2 separate regions of the Homo sapiens genome follow, and region 2 is linked to region 1. The links are contacts of gene promoters, found by promoter capture Hi-C in human tissues and cell types (Jung and others, 2019). All regions are on one chromosome and are shown on one strand. Each heading gives the region's core, a stretch centred on a gene start or on the middle of the fragment in contact. The rest is flanking DNA. Distances are from core to core; before and after follow the strand shown.

Region 1 (3,473 bases), core at 1-2,500:
GAAGTAGGTGAAGCCAGGAGGGGCTGGTAGGTTGGGCGAAGAGGAAGGTATCAAGGGACTGGAGGAAGAGCAATACATAGTGGGACTGTGAAGGTGGAAAGGACTGCAGAGTCGGGTCTGACAGGGGGGCACCTGAGCTTCGGATTTCCAAGATGGAGCAGTTCTGAGGGATGACACAGCCCAGGCTTTGGCCCTGAGACCTGATGGCTGAGGTGGAGTGGAAGGTCACTGGAGATGAGATGGAGGAAGTAGGTGACCCTGTACTACACAAATTCCCTAGAGGACAGACAGGTTGAGGGTGGAGAGGAAGCCAGAAGTGAGCTTCCAGGAATTGAATGAAAGGGCCCAGGAGATTGGACAATGAGGAGGTGTGCGGGCCTCAGAGGGCAGGGGGCACACAAAGACTAACCAAGGGGAGGAAGCTGACCGCAACCGCCCCGAGGACAAGACGGGCGTCCTCGGTACAGGGCCATGTTTAGTGACGGCAGAAGGGAGAAAGGAAGCTCCTGGGAGCACAGGGGGAAGGGGAGCCGGAAGCCAGAGCCAGGGCTGGGGCCACGAAGGACAGACGGCCGGTGTTGGAGGCGGAGGCTGGCCTGGGATGTGAGGCTGGGGTTGGCCGGCCTCCAGGCTCCCCGGGAGCCCCTGCTGAAAGTCTGTGGGCGCTGGCCTGGGCGAAGCCGCGGTCCCCCGCCTGTGGGCTCAACTCTGCGCTCTGCTTCAAGCAAACGCACTAGGAGAGGAGTCAGGAGACGAGGAACTGCGGGGCCCCACCTCGCGCGGGCAACCGCTGTCTGTCCAGGGAGGGCCCAGGCCTGTCTCCGCAGATAGCTTTGAAGCAGGGCCCCCGGTGTGGCCCTCTGGAGGCCTCCCGCGTCCCCTTTTGAGGGGCTGCCCTGCTTGGCCTGGGGAACACAGCGAAGGGCACCTCGTGGAGCCCAATTTAGGGACAACACATTAATTCTGGAAATTCCAGATTCTTTCCGGGGGTCCTCAACCGGCCGGGGTCGGAAAGGCCTGGCAGGGCTCCGCCGGCAGGGGGCGCTCGGGACAGGGGGGCGAGGGGGGCGGACATCCGTTGCGGGGCGCTGCCTGCGCCGGGCCGGCCAGCCCTTGAGGCGAGCACGGCCTGCGGGGCCGATGAGGCCGGGGCCGGCCGGGGCGGGGCGGGGCCAGGGGCGGGGGAAGGAGTCCGAGGGGCGGGGCGGGGGCCGGCAGCCGCCCTCCCTCACTCTCCCTCCCTTTCTTTCTTTCTTTCTTTCTCTCCTTCTAGCTCTCTTGTCTTTTCTTTGCCTCTGCAGCGGCCAAGGGGGCGGGCCCTGCAGCCTTTGTTGCCCGCGGACCGAGCGCAGCCGAACGGAGTCGGGGCCGGGTCGCCGGGAGCTGCACGCCGGCCGGGCATGTCCTGAGCCGGACCTGGGACCAGGCAGCGACCGGACGGGACGGACGAGAGCGTGCGCGCGGGGTCACCCGGCGGCCGCCCGGTTCCTGCCATGCCCGGCGGCCCCAGTCCCCGCAGCCCCGCGCCTTTGCTGCGCCCCCTCCTCCTGCTCCTCTGCGCTCTGGCTCCCGGCGCCCCCGGACCCGCACCAGGTGGGTGTCCGCCCCTCCCCGGCCAGCCGGGCCTGCCACCCCTTCCCGCTCCCCCAGTCTCGGTTTTGTCCCTCCTCACCTTTGTGGACCCCGCGCCGGCTCCGCTGTGCCTGGAGTTGGTCGCGTCTTCCGCTCCCTGGGTATTAGGGGACAGTAGTCGGGGTCGGGCCGGGCCGGGAGCGAAGCCGCGCTTCTGGGGAAACTTCCTCGGCCCCTGATTCAGTTACTGACACTGCCTGTCGCCTGGAATAAGCCCCTTCCGCTCTTCGGGCTCCGGTTTCCCCACCTCGGGTGCAGCAACGCGCCTGGCTCCCGGGAGAGCTCTCGTCCGAGTGGGCTGGACGGAGCGCGGTTTACCCACTGAGGATTTGGTTTCTCACACTCCTTAGCGAGGCTCGCCTGGAAAGCGGGCTGGCCGGGACACAGCCGGCGAGGGCGCCAGGTCGCAGGTCTTCGCGGGACCCCGCCGCCCCCCCAGCTCCCGCCCACCGCATCTGGGCTGCTGGCGCGGCCCCTGGCGGCTCGGGGGGCCGGGTCTTGCGCGGTCCTTGCACTTCCTGCCTCTCCCTTCCCCAAGTGTGAAGACGCCGGGAGTGGAGCGGGGAGCAGGAGCTTCTTTTCCCGGCCATGGGTTAACTCTCCCCGCCCCGCCGGGCCGGCCTCCGACGAGCCTCTGGCCTGCGTCCAGACTCTTGTTTGGCGGCGACCTGCCGGGCGGCCGCGCTGCTGGCGCGTCCGACGCAGCCGGCCTGGGAATTCAGTAACCGAGGATGTAGGAGACCCCAGGCCCGGTGCTCAGGGAGCTCCCAGTCAGGGGAGCCGGTGGATAGTGGGGAGAGTCCTGCAATAGAGCCGACCGGCAGGCTTTGTAGGAGAGGAGGGGCATGAGGTTGGAGAGACTGGAAGGATGGATGGATTCTGGATGAGCTAGAAGGGCGTGGAGGGAGTGGGGCCCTCCCCTGGGGAGCATCAGTCGGGGGACTGGATTAGGGTTGCTTGCTGGGATGGGGTCGACCTGCCTCCCCACTGGAGGGATTGTGACGAGAAAGTAGTCTGGGCGGGAAGGATGGGGACATTGACTCTTGATCTTAGAGGTTTGGGAAGCCGTTGAGGGGAGCAGCTGATGAAAGCAGTGTTTTGGAAAGATTTGGTCTAGCAGCCATGCGCAGAGCGCAGAGGGAGCGAACATTTAATGAGCACCTACTGTGTGCCAGCCTCACGGGTTCTTATTTCTCATCATCTCCACAACAACCGTGCAAAGCAAGTGATGGAAAGTCCTTTTATGGACCAGCAAACAGGCTCAGAGTAGAGCGACCTGTGGGGTTGGACTCCTGAGCTTCCTGAATGAGGCTTGTGTTTTCCACTGTCCAGAGCTGGGGGCTGAGGAGGATGAACCGGGCGATGGGAATGGGAGAGCAGGAAAATGCTTCCCTCAGGACTTGGGTCCTGGCCCCCTGGCAGCTGTGGGAAGAGTTGGGTGCGGTCAACCTCGTGGGATTCTTATGAGGATTAAATGAGATATTGAATATGTCAGTTGCTCAGGCAGGACACAGTGACTACAATGTAGTGGTCATTATTTTTATTAATCTGCCAGGCCGACCCAGGACTCCCCAGATGACCTGGACCTGCTGTTTGAGGGTGGAGGCAGGCCAGGCACTCTCTCCAACCTAATCTGGGCACAAACACTCCAAGGGTGAAGTCTGTCTCTAGTGTTCCCATAGATATAGAGCATGGGGTCCTTCCTGTTCTGCACTCCCTCAGGATTGGTGACTCTGAGGCTGCTGGCCTGTTTGTCATTTTCTTTGAAGCCCAGGACCTAAGCCTGGGGCTCCTCCTACCACTGAATGTTACCTTCTTTAAGACCAAAGGGCTCATCCTGG
Region 2 (3,473 bases), core at 590-3,089, 530 kb after region 1:
CCTAACTACAGTGTCACGCAGAATAGTTTCACTGCCCTAAAAATCCCCTGCTCTACCAAATCATCCCTTCCTCCTGCCTTGAGCCCCTATCAACTACTGATCTTTTTACTAAGGCCCAGGACTTTTTACCCTCCCATGGTCCCACTGTATCCCACCTGCCCCCTAGCCCCTAACTGAGGTCTGCTCCACTCTGCTGAGGTCTGTGTTTAGGGGTAAAATTGCTGACCTCAGTTAGGTCTTATGGTGGTTCTCCTGCCAGAGGTGGTTGGGTTTCATTTTTATTAAAAAAGTGAAAATAGCTGTTGTAATTAGACCTGTCTTGTTCTTGATTAGGTTTAAACTGGTCTCTCCAAGCTGCATCTGTCATAATGAATACATCTTGACACTTTCCTTGGACTGGGAGCACTGGCCCCATACGGAAAGGCTGCTGGTGCAGGCAGGAGTCTGAACCTGCCCTTCTCCTCAGATGGCTTCCTTGCCCCGTTGGTTCTCAATTTCCTCATCTGAGGGGTTGGCTTGCGAAGCCTCTGTAGTGTGGTTCTTTGTTCATTTTGAGCTTCAGCTCTTTGCTTGTGAAGGATTTTATTCTTGGCTTTTGGTGGTGTCAACACATTATGGGTTAATGCTACTATTAAAATTTGTCTCTAATGCATGAAGCTACTTCATTGAAAGAGGAATTTTTGATATAGTATTCATGGTCATTATAAGGATAGCAGATTTGGTCCAGCTTATTGGCAGAGTTAATAATATACTTTCCACTTCAGTGATTATACTGTAGAAATTAACATCTCAATTTTGTTTGAAACTTTCCCATTTCAGACAACATGCCAATTTGGCTGGCACGCTGAGCGGCCATGCCTCCTGGGTGCTGAACGTTGCATTCTGTCCTGATGACACTCACTTTGTTTCCAGGTACTTAATGATTCTTAGCAGTTTCTAAAATGCTGGGGAGATGAGAGCAGTCTTCTTGTATAGATTGCCTTAACATTTAAAGATGTTTGACCCTTTTTTATTCAGTTAGCCTTTCTTTTCTGCAGTTCTTAAAATTTTTATTTAGTGATGTTAGTTGACCTTAGCTGGAACAAAAGTCAACAAGTAATCCTTTTAAACAGTAAAACTCTTAGTTTTTTCATTATAAATTGAGGCTTCTACCAAAGTGACTCTAAGGTAGACTTGTGTTCCAATGGTAACTTAAAATATGTAAATGTTTGTAAAATGTTGTTTATAGATCCCAGTGTTGGTCAGGCCTGGGATGGCCAAGACAGTTGGAAAGCAGGAGATGGACAACTTGAAGGCATTGCACAGTGCTTTAGAGGCCTCCTGCGAGCCTTGGTTTTGAAGCTTTAACAGGCCTCCCTCCCATCTGGAAATAGGTAGCTGTGTCTGAGACTCCTGGAGAACAATTAATATGAGGGCCAGGCAGATCACAATTTCAGGAAAATGGCTACCCTGTGAGGAGAGAAAGCCACCCAATGATGCTGATACCTGGCCATTTCCTGTACCGAGGCATGGGGTTGGGGGGTCTGAAGTTAGAAGAATGTAAGTCATCAAAGGATTTTTGGTCGAAGTCCTTCCAACTTCAAACCGATACTAATGTTCACTTTTTAAAATAGTTCGTCTGACAAAAGTGTAAAAGTTTGGGATGTTGGAACGAGGACTTGTGTTCACACCTTCTTTGATCACCAGGATCAGGTATGGCATTATTATTTCATCTTTAGATAGTCGGGGTTGTTTGACCATTGTACCAAAGAGATTTTCTTTTCCTGACCTTGTTGCTTGAGCTGTGGATACCAGTAGATGCCTGGGCCTGAGCTGCTCTATCTGCTCAGTCATCCATGTAGCCAGAGTTCCTGTGCAGAGTCTGGGGTGCAGAGGCTGGGATGTGCTGTCAGCCTAGCAACTCACGAGGCATATCCCCACATAGGCTGGAAAACATGGTGTTAGCCCCACAGCCTTTAAATGCCGTCTTTGGAAATTGCTGCAGCTGGTGTCTGGGGCCCTCTCCTGGGGGCTGCTGCGCCATGGCAGGCTCACCAAGGACCTTCCTCTTCAGGAGATTCCATTGCTTAAACACAATCATCGCTTGTCATTTTTGGGACTGTCCAAAGAAGAGATGTGATTTTTTTTTTTTTAATATAGTAGAAGCTGGAAATTCATACAAGTTTTTTGGCTTTAGTGTTATTGATAACTTTTCAGTCTTTAAAAGGAAACTGTTCTCACAAGCAACTTTATCTTTGCCAAGGTGAATATGTGAAATAGCAAAGGTGTTCTAGTGCAATACTGCTGAGTCTTTCATGTGTGCTCGTATCCCCTGGGAACCTGGTGAAAATGCAGATGCTGCTTCACTAGGTCTGGCAGAGGGCCTGGGATTCTGCATTTCTAACAGGCTTCCAGGTGAGGCCAAGGCTGCTGGTCCTAACCACACTGTAAGGTCTTGGGGAACTGAGCATAAAAAATAAAATGTCCATGGCAATATAATATTGGCTTTTAATATATTTTAAATATTTTTAGATGGTCCTATAGATTTCTCCTCTTTGAAATGGAACTTAAAGTTAACTAACATTGTTCATGCTTATTTTTCAACTTAAATTGTCCCAACAAAATTGAGGGGGTTCTATCTTGATATTCCACTTCTGGATTTAAGCATCTTACTCAGGGAGTAAGTCCTGGCTAGCTGTGTTTCCTTGTATGTATGGATCATTGCGGTGCTGTGTCAGAGGCTGGAGTGAAAGGCCATCATGCAGCCCAATCCCAACACTAAAATCAGAGTAGGGTGACAGGCTTACCACCCAGAATCACCTCCTAATAATCAGGAAGTTATTTATGATTAGAGAAACTCCAACCACATCAATTCTGTCTGGGAAGGAGGTGTGAATCAGTTAATTTAACACATAGCAAATAAAAATCTATGGTCCACAATATCATGTTGTCTAGCTCCTGGGGACAGGCAGGCTCCATAGGCCACTAATAACAGAGTGAGAATTACTGACTGTGGGGGGCGGACACAAGGGGTCAGCTGAGGAGCGCAGTTTGTGACTTTCCCTATAGGCAGTGACCTCGGGGTAGTTGTGGGGCTCTTTCTTCCTGGAAGCATAAATGTTGGTCTCTTATGGCTTCCGTCTTCCTGGCATTAGGTTACACTTCAGGATTCTGACTCTTTGAAAGGGTTGTAGATAGTCTTGATTAGTACTGTATTTAAAAATGATTTTTTTTTTTTTTTTTGGAGTATGGGAAGGGGCAGGAATTCTAATTAAATAGCAATAATGGAAGGTGCTCGGTTAAAGCCTCCATTCTCACTGATTTAGAAAGTACAAGAACATCCTCATCTCAGTTTTGGTAGATTCAGAATAACGAGAAAATAAGGATGTTCATTTCATAAATATTATAAAGAATAAAGGCATTTGTAGAACTATCTTTTTTTAAATTTACAGGTCTGGGGAGTAAAATACAATGGAAATGGTTCAAAAATTGTG

Evidence for each region. Contacts are between HindIII fragments. The study calls those that stand out against the background at their distance.
Region 2: a contact is called between a fragment that was not itself captured here and the fragment with the promoter of ADAMTS7 in region 1, in 1 of the 25 tissues and cell types used here (hippocampus).

The regions. Positions count from the first base shown.
Region 1 is chr15:78,809,241-78,812,713 of GRCh38, reverse strand. ADAMTS7 (ADAM metallopeptidase with thrombospondin type 1 motif 7) reads left to right here and starts at 1,250. Exons shown (of 24, transcript NM_014272.5): 1 at 1,250-1,593. The coding sequence starts at 1,494. RefSeq lists a silencer at 803-1,222. The HindIII fragment of the contact is 14,119 bases long and covers 1-3,473 here.
Region 2 is chr15:78,283,480-78,286,952 of GRCh38, reverse strand. SKIC8 (SKI8 subunit of superkiller complex) reads left to right here. Exons shown (of 11, transcript NM_025234.3): 9 at 820-912; 10 at 1,614-1,692; 11 at 3,432-3,473. Among named protein-coding and RNA genes, the nearest start is that of SKIC8, 14 kb to the left of the region's middle. The HindIII fragment of the contact is 6,679 bases long and covers 1-3,473 here.